3 separate regions of the Homo sapiens genome follow, and regions 1 and 2 are each linked to region 3. Evidence: promoter capture Hi-C in 16 types of primary human blood cells and fetal thymus (Javierre and others, 2016). All regions are on one chromosome and are shown on one strand. Each heading gives the region's core, a stretch centred on a gene start or on the middle of the fragment in contact. The rest is flanking DNA. Distances are from core to core; before and after follow the strand shown.

Evidence for each region. The method cuts DNA at HindIII sites, captures the fragments that hold promoters and counts their contacts. A CHiCAGO score of 5 or more calls a contact.
Region 1: a fragment that was not itself captured here is called in contact with the fragment with the promoter of TMPRSS4 in region 3 in 10 of 17 cell types (activated CD4 T cells, naive CD4 T cells, neutrophils and 7 more); the score reaches 7.8 in activated CD4 T cells.
Region 2: a contact is called between a fragment that was not itself captured here and the fragment with the promoter of TMPRSS4 in region 3, in 6 of 17 cell types (activated CD4 T cells, endothelial precursors, naive CD4 T cells and 3 more). The highest score is 6.7, in activated CD4 T cells.

Annotation. Positions count from the first base shown.
Region 1 is chr11:117,794,934-117,799,094 of GRCh38, forward strand. DSCAML1 (DS cell adhesion molecule like 1) reads right to left here and starts at 2,283. Exons shown (of 33, transcript NM_020693.4): 1 at 2,101-2,283. The coding sequence starts at 2,146. The HindIII fragment of the contact is 5,146 bases long and covers 1-4,161 here.
Region 2 is chr11:117,776,521-117,780,407 of GRCh38, forward strand. It overlaps DSCAML1 (DS cell adhesion molecule like 1), which reads right to left. Exons shown (of 33, transcript NM_020693.4): 3 at 271-417. Among named protein-coding and RNA genes, the nearest start is that of DSCAML1, 19 kb to the right of the region's middle. The HindIII fragment of the contact is 3,137 bases long and covers 126-3,262 here.
Region 3 is chr11:118,074,450-118,078,812 of GRCh38, forward strand. TMPRSS4 (transmembrane serine protease 4) reads left to right here and starts at 2,629. Exons shown (of 13, transcript NM_019894.4): 1 at 2,629-2,856. The coding sequence starts at 2,854. All of the region lies in intron 1 of SMIM35 (small integral membrane protein 35), which reads right to left. RefSeq lists an enhancer at 2,484-3,079. The HindIII fragment of the contact is 4,332 bases long and covers 1-4,091 here.

The DNA of each region.
Region 1 (4,161 bases), core at 873-3,372, 280 kb before region 3:
AGGAGCCGCCACAACTGGCATCTCCAGCCCGCCTACAGGTCCAAGGCCACTGGCAACTTCCATCTCGAGTTGGACAAGATTTTGCCCCTTGGCTGTCCTGTTGCCTTCTGGGCCTTTCTCCACCCCCAACCCCATCTGCTCCCGCCCTATCAAATAGCTCGGCTTCATTTATTAATGCCAGGCTCCTGGAAGGGGGAGGGGAGTGTCCTTCAGGTATTTGCTGAGGGGCCTCCTGCACTCCCCGGGAATGGGCTGTCCTGGAAGATGTCTCCAGAGAGTGTTGTGGAGGCATGGGGGAGTTGGGGACAAAGCCGGGCTAGAGTGTGGCAGCGGCTTCGGCCTGTGCTTTCTCGCCTGACAAATTGCGAAAGGGGATGGGGGTTGGAGAGAGAACTATCGAGAGAGAAAGCCGCTCCTCACCTTATGTATTTTTAATATTAATGTAATTAAAGCTGCGAGCCGAGCCAGCCTGCGGGGGCGGAGGGAGGCAGGAAGAACCTGGGGAGAGGGAGACTGGGGTTCGGGGGTGGGGCTTGAACAGGAGGCAGGCTTCTTGCTCTGCTAAGGTAGGATGAAGGAGTGCGATGCGGGGGGCAAGGGGTTAAACAGCAGAGACCAGCCTTGGTGTGTAACCCGGGGGACCCCACTGGGCCTGAGAAACTCAACTACTTTGTCGACGATTTTTGAGGCCACCCTTCCTTGTCCCGCAATCCGATCGCCTAGTAAATGCCAGCAGTATCTGGGCCTTGAGTCTGGCTTTGACCCGGCAGTATCTACAAATAAGGGTTATCCTCTTTCCCCCAACCCACGATGTATCGCAGTGGGCTCCGGCAGGCTGCAGACTCCAGACCCCTGGAGCACCGGCAGGGCAGGGTTGGACCCCTCCCCGGGTGGCAACCCTCCACTGGAGTGCCCTTCCTCATCGTCTTGGGGTTAAGAGTTGCCGCCCGGCCAGGGCAACAGCCAGGGCAAAGGGAGAGAGAAGCCGCCCCGGGGCGAGAAGGAGAAAAGTTAGAGGGCTGAACAGGTGACGCTGAGCTTGTTGGAGCGTGTGTGCTCCACCACGCAAGGGCGCGGAGTTCGGCCGCCTCATCTCCCGCCATCTGCGCGCCCGGGGGCACGTCCTCTGCGATAGCCTGGAACCCAGACTACCTGCGCCTGCCTGGTCCCGACTCAGTGCCCAGGTGGCTTCAGTCGGAAATGTCTGCCCTCTTCCAACCTCCCGATCCCGGCTGCCTCGCGGATCAGGTACGCAGCGCCCCAGCCGCAGGTCTGGACATGCCGGACACCTGGACCCACCCCTAGCAACCCCCTCTCTCCGGGAAGAGGGACACGCCCCCCAGCCTGAAGACTTGTCCCCAGGTCCAACTGGCCAGGCGCGGAAGCGGAGAATCTCGCATCTTGGGGCGCGCTGCCCGAGGTGGCCACGGTGGCGCACCAAGCCGGGGCTAAAGCCGGGGCAGAGGGGTGGGGTAGGGCCGGGGGAGGGTGACCTCTGGGTTTGGAGAACAAACTTGCTATCCGAGGGACCTCCAGCTCTCGGGACTCTCACTATCCCCACCCTGCCTCCAGCCAATGCGCGGATAAGCGCCATGCGGTGCGCCAACATTCGCGCCAGGGCTGGGGTCCGCGGCGGGAGAGGGACGCACGGACATAGCGGAGGAATCAGCCGCCGAGTCCGAGGCCTGAATAAGCAAGGACTCCTAGGTCAAGAGTCACGGCCTGAGGACCCCTCGACTCGGAGGGCACTCCGGGGTCCCAGTGCCACCAAGCCGCAGGAAGAGGGCAAGGGGCTGGGGGAGGGGTCCAGGGCAGAACTGCCGCCGTGCAGGGAGCAGGGAGATGAGGGGCTCCTTTGCCACCACCCCTACGGGCGCGCCCCAAAACGGCAGACGCGGGTGGCTGGCGGAGCGGTCGGGGGCTGACTCTCACTCGGCCCCTGTCAGGGTGCCTGCCCCTCCCCGCTGCGCCCCACCCGGGGCCTTGCACCCCGGTCGGTTCCCCCACGCACCTGGAGCCCGCCGGGCACCCCGCCTCGCCGCCAGCCGCGCCACCCTGGCCCCGCCGCCTCCGCCGCCCAGCCGCCCGCGCAGGTCTCACCTTTGTGTAAAGAGTCCAGGAGCAGGAGGAAAGTTACCAGCCACATGCCATAAAGAGGCCCTATTCTCCGGGGAGGTGGTCCTGTGGCCGGCCGTGCGGCAGCGCCTCTCCCCCGCTCAGCGCGCTCCCAGCCGCCCGCACTCGGCGCCCCGCTCTCTCTGCTCCTCAGCCCAGCGCTCGGCTGCGGCGGCGGCTCCTCCCTCCTCGGCTCCCCGGCTCCTGTCATCCGCGGGGCTGGGCTAGGCGGCCGCTCTCCCCGCCCCCCCGCGGCACCCCGGGTGGTGAGCGCCGCGCGAGCCCGGAGCCCAGACGGACCCCAGCCCCACAAGCCCAGGAACAGGAGCGGCGGCCCGGGCCAGACCGCCCCGACCCGGCTCCGCTGTCTGAGAGGCGAGGGGTCCCTGTCACCCACCGGCTTGGAGCCTGTGGTCGCAGACAGGCATGTGTCATCCATGTGCCAACAGCCTGCCATGCTTCAGCCAAGGACGCCCGGTTTCTACTGGCCTAAGTCACCTGGGACACGAGCTTCCTGCCTCTTTCGGACTCAGCTTACCCGGCCCCCCCACCCTCCCCAGGAGGAGCATGGACGCTCTGGGTAGAATCCCAGGCTTTTCAGTGCTGTCTGGTGCTACTCCCCACCCCAAAGTTCATAGCTGCCCTTCCAACCCCTCGTGACTTCCGCAAGCCTGCCCTCCGGAGAACCCCAGATGAGTCCAGCCACCCCCTGGCACGCTGTTCGAATTTTCCTCAGCACTTGGCACATTGTGACTATTTAAACGGTTATTCACAATGAGCAGTTTAATGTCTACGCTACCTGTGTTATCTTCCTCCTTTGTCTTCACCTACCCACCCCTATAGCTTTCCTGCCTGACAGAAATTGGCTTATTCCTTACACTCATCTTTATGAAGTTGGCATAGAATAGGACTGGAGTGAGGGCGTCTTCTCAGTGACCAAATGAATGTTGAGCACCTGCTGTGTCAGGCACTGGCTCAGGCACTGGGGACTCAGGCATGGCTGAGCCAGGTCTGCTGTAAAAGGTCAATATGGTTGGAAAGCCCTCCTTTCGTCTTAATTCCAAAATAAGAGGATACATAGAACCCAGAGAAGGGATCCAGGTATCCCTGAGAATGGCCTATGAGCCAGGACTGTAGCTCCCTTTGCAGGGTCATGGAAGCTGCTTTGAGTATGCCCTGACAATTGGGCTGTACCTGGGCAGACTCTAAGGTGTGGAGTGCGAAGTTTGGAGGGAGAGAAGGGGTCCACTGGCTAGCTGCATTTGCCAGAGGAAGAAAATTTACTTCCTCGAAATGTGCGGCCTAAGTTCACATGGGAGAATTGGGACTCCTCACTCCCAGGTTTTGCCAAAATATCCCTAGAAATTTTAACTAAATTTTGAAAAGTGTGTTTTTTAATATGTTAAAATGTACATAACATAAAATTTACCATTTCAACCATTTGAAGTGTACTATTCTGTGGCATTAAATACATTCACGATGTGCAACCATCATCACTTACCATTTCCAAAACTTTTTCATCATCCCAAACAGAATCCTGCACCCATTAAATAATAACTCCCCCTTCCCCTCCCCTCCCCCAGCTCCTGGCAACCACTATTCTACTTTGTCTCTATGAAGTTGCTTATTCTAGGTACCTCATAAGTGAGATCATAAAGTATGTATCCTTTTGTGCTTGGCTTACTTCACTCAGCATAATGTTTTCAAGGTTCGTCCTTTAAACGGGTGAGAAAATCGGGGCTTAACTTGTTCAAGGCCACCAAGGTTGTATCAGAAGCAAGACTAGAACCCAGGCCTCCCGACTCCAGAGCAGAGCTTGCTCTATAAGCTGCAGCATCCCTCGGTGGCTCAGCTCTTCATGCAAAATCACCACCCTGAAACAATTTGCAGGAGGTGTTTTGTCATCTGGAAACACAGGCATAGAACAGAGACGGGGGGACAGACTGCAGGGGGTGTTTGAGATGACCCAGACCGATCTTTTGCTTTACAGATAAGGAAACTGAGGCCCAGAGTGGGGAAGCCATGAGCCTTCCCCGAGGTCACGCA
Region 2 (3,887 bases), core at 444-2,943, 300 kb before region 3:
TTCCACTGCACTTGGTGTCTGATGGGACCCTCACAGACCCAGTCAAGACCACCAGTGTGTGAGTCTTCAACACCCCACAGAGAGACGTGCCAGACCAAGACCAAAGACTTTTTTTTTTTGGCCAAAGCTTCACCAGAACAATAACAAGTCACTCCCCAGAGCCAACCTCAAGATCTTATTGAGCTCAACAACCAGCTCAGGCATCTCTACTTTATCCAGTCCCCACAGAGGGAGCACCTCTGTCTGCCGCAGCCCCGGGACGCTTCTTACCTGGGATGATGGAGACTGTGTCTTTCTCCCAAGATACAACGCTAACATATTCCTGCACTGAAGAGGGGATGAGGCACTTGAAGACGGCCACGTTGCCACGCATTGACCTTTGATCCTCCACCCGGACGGTGTAGGGTTCCCTGAAAACTGCAGAGAGATTGGCAGTGGGGAAGAGAAGAGTGTCACAAGGATGTGGTGAGGGTCCCCAGAAAGGAACAGGGAGTCAGCTCAACTCCCTCTGCTCCTTCAGCCTCACCTTCCCACTTCTTCCTTCCCCCATCCTGCTTAGCCAGCCTAGAAGCCCCTGCCATGATCTTGTTCTTGTCTGGGCAACTCCTTCTCCATCAACCTCCTCCCCATCCTACTGGGCAGCCTTTTCTCCCTCAAAAATATCTGGCCTCCCTCTGCAAGACCATCCATCCAAATTCCTACCTTTCCCATTTCGGTATTAGCAAGTCATATTAGATTGTAAAAGCCTTGAGGGCAGCACTAAGCCCTGCAATGTTATATTCACCAAGGGGATGTGCAGGTAATAAGGAAATATGCTAGAATTCCCCTAAGAAAACCAAACCGGATTTCCTGCATTATTGCTGGACCCAGGGTGGCAATTATTTTGGACACAGTGACCATAATGCACCCAAACAAAACCTGTGACACATGCTCTAACAATTGAGTTTTGGGCTCCTTCAACATGAAAGGCAGCCTGGGAAATGTAGTTCAGATCCTGAGCTTACAAGGACAAAGGGAGAGAATGTTTGGGACTACGATTGTCTCTGAGCACACAGAATCCTAGAGACATGGACACAGTCTCCAAGATTCTCCAAAACAGAGCATTCTTGCTGCTTTCTTCCTGCTTCTGACCCTGGCTGCAGCCTCTACAGCACCCCTCCCTGACCCCCAGACTTGCCCCTGCTTTCAGAACCATCCCTTCCCCCACCGTGCCCACCTCCTGCCTCAGCTGGCTTCTAGGGCATTGCCAACTGCAGCCGCTGTATGTGTCTGGCCCTACAGGCAGGCAGACCCAGCCCTAGGAATGGGACCAAGGCTTCTGCCTCTGCCTTGTCCTCCTCTGTTTGGCCTCTCCCAGGCCTCGCTTGATCCTTCCACCCCCTTATCTGCCAAGCAAAGCTGGAACATCCAGAGCCCTGCTGCCTCCCGACCTTGTCCCTCAGCAGGCACCTGGGCAGCGTGCCCTCCTCCTCTCCCTGCCATGGTTGCCAGGGTGACACTTAGGGCCCTGGCAGCCCATCCCCACCCCCTGACTGTGCACCTGCAGCCCCTCTGGCATCATCAAGAGTCTCTTAATTGACTGTGTTTCCAGTCAGCCTGGCTCTTCCCGGCCCTCCCTCGGCCTTTATTCTTTCCCCTTCTCCAAGCTGTGGCTGTGATGAGGAGAAGATGTGGTTGAGGTGGAAGAAAGAGAAGAGAGGAGAGGCACTGGTGGCTCTGTGGATCTGTGGTCCAGCCCTTCCAAAGGTTTGGGCAGAGCCCTGCCTCCAGATATGGGAGAGCACAGAGGAGAACAAGGGGAATGGACCCTGGAGGGAGGCAAGGTGGTGGAGTGGAAAGAGCGGGCTGGGGTGCACGCCACCTGTGATGTCCCAGGGAGTCAGCAGAGGTTAATGGCTAACGGCATCTAACAAGCGGGCCCTGCCTCCTCCACTGGCCCACTGTGTGATCCTGGACAAGGGTTGGTTAACCTTCTGGAGCCCCAGTTTCTTCATTTATGAAAGGAAATCACCATAAGAGCAGCGTATAAAAGGCCCAGCCCAAGGAAAGCACTTTGGCAATGTCACTTTTCATGATAGCTGCACCTCTGCGATTAACTGGCTATGTGCCCTTGGGCAAGTGACTTAACTCTCTTTGTTTTAATCTCTTCATTTGTGAAAACACATGTATAGACTTACTGTGAAAACTGCATCCTAACCCAATGAGGGGGAGGTGACAGGAAACATGGTCCCTTCCCCTTAGCCCAATCCTCCACGCTGTGGAGGCCAGAGCTGGGCTCCAAACCCAGGCCTCAGGGCTCCCAGCCCAGCACTTGGTGCTGCATTAGGGGTTGAGCCGTGCAAAGCACTTGCTCCTAAAAAGAGTCCATGGGGAGCCCAGGGAGAAACCCTGAGCATATCTCTGTGTTCTAAGAGCTCATGGTCTAGCCCCAAACCAACCAATGGAATGAAGGACAGCTCTCACCCCACCTCACCCCTACACACTCCCGTTCCCAGCTACTTTAAACCTTGCTCTTATGAGAGGTGTACCTAAGGGAAAAGGACCCCAAGAAGTCAGAGAGGGTCTGTCACCACATGCTGGTTGGGAGGCCTTTCCCAGAACCACTCTCCCTGGTTGGCCCAACACAGTCCCTGGAAAAGATGGTGTGACCTAGGCCTGGCACCATTGCAGTGGGCTGGGTCTTTAAGTTGAAAAGCTCTTCTAAGTTGAAAACCATTCCCAAAACGTCAGTGCTTTATAATGATCCGAGACCCACCTTACCATTGATTGTGAGACACCAGTGTACCCTGGTGTCCTAGTGAAGAATGGCTGATCTTAGCTGTCCCCTTGGCCTCCCGACATAATCCAGAGAAATAAGACTTTCTTTTTTCTTAAAATAGACCACCTGAGAAACCCTACCTCCTTGCCTCCACCTACTCTTCCAAAGACCAAAATCCTTCACTGCTAAAAGTCTTTCATCGTGAATTTTACCAAATTGCCTTTTCTCATGAGATATGTCATCCTCAGACATCCCCTCAGCAGTAGAATGGACAAAGAAAGTGTGGTCTAGTTGCATGATAGAACACTAGGCAGCAGTGAGAACAACCAACCTCCCACCACACACAGCAGCAGGGGTAAATCCCATAAGCAGAATGGTGAGCAAAAGGTCTAGACAATATACACCGTTGGACACCATTTGTATAAAGTTCATAAATAAGCAAAATATCTACATTGTTAGAAATCAGAATAGTGGTGGCTCTTAGGGGAATAGTGTCACAAAAGAAGCTTGAGGAACGCTTCTAAGGTGCTGATGTTGTATTTCTCAATCTCAGTGTTAGTTGAAGTTTGTAAAATTTCATCAAGCTACATACTTGTAATGTGTGCACTTTCCTTTATATATTATTTTTCAATAAAAGGCTTCAAGGAAACCTCACTGCGGGTTTTCTATAAGTCAAGGGGGCTGAAGTGAGCACCTCATTTAAATGAGCACCAACTCATTTAACCATCACACGTAGTGATACAGAGGTAGGTACTTGCATCCACTTTGCAGATGGGAAAACTGAGGCTTAGGAAGGTGTCTTCTCACCACTGCACTCCAGTCTGGGCGACAGAGTGAGGCTCTGTCTCAAAAAGCAAAAAGAAAGAGAGAGAGAGAGAGAGAAAGAAAGAAAGAAAAAAAGAAAAAAAGAAAGAAAGAAAGAGAAAGAAAGAGAGAGAGAGAAAGAAAGAAAGGAAAGAAAGAAAGAAAGAAAGAAAGAAAGAAAGAAAGAAAGAAAGAAAGAAAGAAAGAAAGAAAGAAAGAAAGAGAGAAAGGAGAAAGAAAGGTGTCTCTTATGCCTATGGACACACAGCAAGTGGTACAACAAAGATTCAAAAGAGAACAACAAAACTGTTCTTGAGTGAACGAC
Region 3 (4,363 bases), core at 1,379-3,878:
AGAATGGGGGTTCTGGGCCGGGTGCGGTGGCTCACACTTGTAGTCCCAGCACTTTGGGAAACCAGAGCGAGTGGATCGCTTGAGCTCAGGGGTTTGAGACCAGCCTTGTCAACATGGTGAAACCCTGTATCTACAAAAAATACAAAAATAAGCCAGGCATAGTGGCTCACACCTGTAATCCCAGCTACTTGGGGGACTGAGGCGGGGGAATCCCTTGAGCTCAGGAGGTGGAGGTTACAGTGAGCTGAGGCTGCACCACTGCACTCCAGCCTGGGCAACAGAGGGGGACCCTGTCTCAGAAAAAAAAAAAAAAAAAGAATGTGGGTTCTGGTCCAGCTGGTTTTCCCTGGCACCTGGGAGAGGTGGGCCTCTGTTGTCTCCAGGCCACTGTGCCTCCCTCTGTAAACCTTCACCCCCACCTGCAGGCATCACAGCCACCCTGCCCAGTCCTGCTTATGTGCCTTCTTCCCGGACCTCTCCACAAACTCCCAGACCCAAATGGGAGCAGAAGCCAGGAGGGCTGAGTCATCATCCCTCCAACCAGCCATGCCCAGCAGCCTTCATGCCCAGACAGCTGCCTCTTTCCTGGTTCATCACCTGAGCACCAGGTAAAGCAATGCAAACCTGTGGGCCAGATGTTTAGCCTGGCACATAGAGGAACCAAGACAACTGAAAACGTGGCTCCCAGTGGCCCACTGGCTTCTCACTGCCCTGCTGCTGGGGAGGTGCCTGCCTGGACCATCACGGCCCTGACCCTGAGGTCACCTGAGATCACAGGCTCTTGCCTCTGCCCAAGACTTCCAACTCTCAAGGCCACCAGCCATCAGTAAGGAAGGGCTGGGGCTGTGCTGGCTCCAGAGCCCTGCAGGCCAGCTTCAGATCTCTGCTGCTCAGAGACAAGTCCAAGGCCACACTGCATTCATCAGCTGAGATTTGGCCAATAATCCATTACACAGATCCGGTATTCCTCCTGCTCAGACATCACTGGGGTCCTCCATGGGCCATATTATCCCAAACCATGAACCTGGGGCTTTCAAACACTTGTGTTCCATTCAGCCTGTTCACAAGCCTGGCAGTGTGAACCAGTAAGAGAACCAGGTTCCAGCCCCAACTCTGCCCGAAACTACTTCATGTCCATAGGCTATAGTTTCCTCAGCTGACAAATGGGAACAAAATATTGGGGTTGTTGTTGGAGAATTAAAGGGCTGATACACAGAAGCACGTTATCAACAGAAGGACAAATACACACGTCTAACCCAGGCTGGTCTCCTGGGAGGGTCAGGTCTGAGAAATGGAAGGAGATCTGGATTCATATGGAACCAGACACTAATTCATTATGTGACTTTGGGTCATTGACTTTGCCTCTCTGGAATTTAGTTTTGTCGCCCACAGAATGGGGGAACAATGTGGACAATTATCCAAGTCTCTCCCAGCAAAATATCTGTGGCTGTAAGGTTTCACCTTGCACATCCCCTGGCCAGGGGGCAGCTCCAGCTATCAGGATGTGGCAGAACGTGAATCAGAAATGATCCTGTGGGGCTGGGTGCGGTGGCTCACGCCATAATCACAGCACTTTGGGAGGCTGAGGCAGGTGGATCAGTTGAAGCCAGGTGTTTGAGACCAGCCTGGCCAACATGGCAAAACCCCATCTCTACTAAAAATACAAATTAGCCAGGCATGGTGGCGCACAACACCTGTAATCCCAGCAGCTACTTGGGAGGCTGAGGCAGGAGAATCACTTGAACCTGGGAGGTGGAGGTTGCAGTGAGCCAAGATCGCGCCACTGCACTCCAGCCTGGGCAACAGAGACTCTGTCTCAAAATAAAATAAAATACAAAAACACAAAACTTAGCTGGGTGTGGTGGCAGGTGGCTGTAGTCCCAGCTACTCGAGAGGCTGGAGCACGAGAATTGCTTGAACCTAGGAGGCGGAGGTTGCAGTGAGCTGAGATTGCGCCCCTGCACTCCAGCCTGGGGGACAGAGAGAGACCCTGTCTTAAAAAAAGAAAAGAAAAAAAGAAAGAAAGAAAGAAGGAAATGACTCCGTGGACGAGGAGACGTGGGCTCTAGCCAGAGCACCAATAGTGATTTTCAGAATATTGAACGGCTGCTGAGGCAGGGGCAGGAAGCACTAGTACATTGGCTCTGTGCAGGACAGCTTCACTTCTGGGATCCAGGGAAAGGGGGTACATCTTACCTCCCTAAGAGAAGAAACTCCCTCCTTCTCTGTGGACTTTCCAATCCTATTGCTCCACACCTGGCAATGATCTCTTTGTACTGAGCTGCAAACCCTGTCGCCCAACCCCCAGACCACTCCAACTTCCCACAACCCCAAACCAAAGCACCCACACAGTGAGAAGTCATGCACCTAGAAGGTAGGGGGAGGGGGGGCGGAAACTTCTGGCATCACCCTCAGCCAACACCCAGTTGGGTGGAAGTCATTCAGGCGGGAAGGCTTTTGTTACGCCTTAGGTGTGTCACCTGTTCTGAGGCCGAAGGTCCCATGAATGACTTCAGGTGTTGTTCCAGCCCCTAAGATAGGTGTCAGGTTACAAGACACATAATCATTCCAGTTTGGCAACTTCACTTGTAGGGCTGTTTTAATCAAGCTGCCCAAAGTCCCCCAATCACTCCTGGAATACACAGAGAGAGGCAGCAGCTTGCTCAGCGGACAAGGATGCTGGGCGTGAGGGACCAAGGCCTGCCCTGCACTCGGGCCTCCTCCAGCCAGTGCTGACCAGGGACTTCTGACCTGCTGGCCAGCCAGGACCTGTGTGGGGAGGCCCTCCTGCTGCCTTGGGGTGACAATCTCAGCTCCAGGCTACAGGGAGACCGGGAGGATCACAGAGCCAGCATGGTGAGTGTGGGGCCCTCTGCTCCCAAGACACAGGAAGGGTGGGTCTCCCCATGTAAGGCCCTTCAAGCAGCCTGAGCATCCATCAGCTGAGAATTCTGTGACACCTTCTAGGTTAAAAAAAGAGGCCACACCCAAATCCCCTCACACCCCAGCCCGGTACACGTCTCATACCCACCTGCCTTCCTCTCTTCCTCCATTGCCATGGTCCTTGGACCAGCTCACCTAAGAAGCTGAGCACAGAGCCAGGGCTGTCCTTCCCGACTATTCTTTCCTGAATCCTGCATGTTCTTTTGCCCAATGTCTCCAGGTCTGTTGGTTAGAGGTTGGCACTATTTTTCCAAGGCAGGGGGCTGTTCTGATGCCACGGTTGCCCTCTGCCACTCCCTGGGGAAACTGATTCCTTTTCTTTTTAAAGAAAAGTGTAGACTGGGTGCAGTGGCTCACGCCTGTAGTCCCAGCACTTTGCGAGGCTGAGGCAGACAGATCTCTCGAGGTCAGGAGTTTGAGACCAGCCTGGCCAGTATGGTGAAACCCCATCCGTACTAAAAATACAAAAAATTAGCCAGGCGTGGTGGCAGGTGCCTGTAATCCCAGCTACTTGGGAGGCTGAGGCAGGAGAATCGCTTGAACTTGGGAGGCGGAGGTTGTGGTGAGCCAAGATTGTGCCATTGCACTCCAACCTGGGCAACAAGAGTGAAACTCCGTCTCAAAAAAAAAAAAAAAAAAAAAAAAAAAAAAAGAAAGAAGGAAAAGAAAACAGTGCAGAGATGCCTCCAAACAATCTAGGGTGTTTGTGGTCATCTTTTACTTGGTCTCTTTTCATGCCCTCACCCTCTCTCCTCCTCCTCTGAATACCTGGAGCGTCTTCGCTGTCTTGGGGCAAAGAGAATCAACCCTATCTTTCAAGGAGGACAGCTGAGGGCCAGGGAGGGGAAGAGATAATAACTGGGTCTGAGGAGGAACCCAGGGGTCTTCCTTCTCCAGTCCTTGGCCAAGAGGCAGCAATTGCCCAGCCACCAAAGTGAAAGGGAAGGGAAGAGAGGAAAGGAGAAGCCACTGTCCAAGGGGGAAGGGTGTGACCTGCAGGGGCCCCTCGAGTGATTGTCTCCTATTCCCAACCTGAGCACTTCCCACGACACTCTTCTGAAAATTCTGGCAAGAACAATTCTTAGTGCGGTTGTAGCTGATGATCAGAAAGGGGAAGGGGCTTCCCTTTGAGCCAGGATCAAAGCACAAGCTTCCTGCTTTCCCATCCAAGGAGGCGCCCCAAAGTTTGGCCTGTGTGCAGAGACGCTGTATCCCCTGGGGCTCCCAGGAGAGGAGAGCAGCTGTGGAGTCTACCTAGCTGTGAGCTGCTTCTGGGTGGCAGGCACTGAGGAGACCTGGGGTGTCTCTTGGGGGAGCAACAGAGAAGGGAATCATTTCTAGGGCAGGTCACTAACTGCAGAATCAGAAGGCTGAGGCCAGCTCCCTGATTAGCTGTGCTGTCTTGAGGCATTCATCTTCC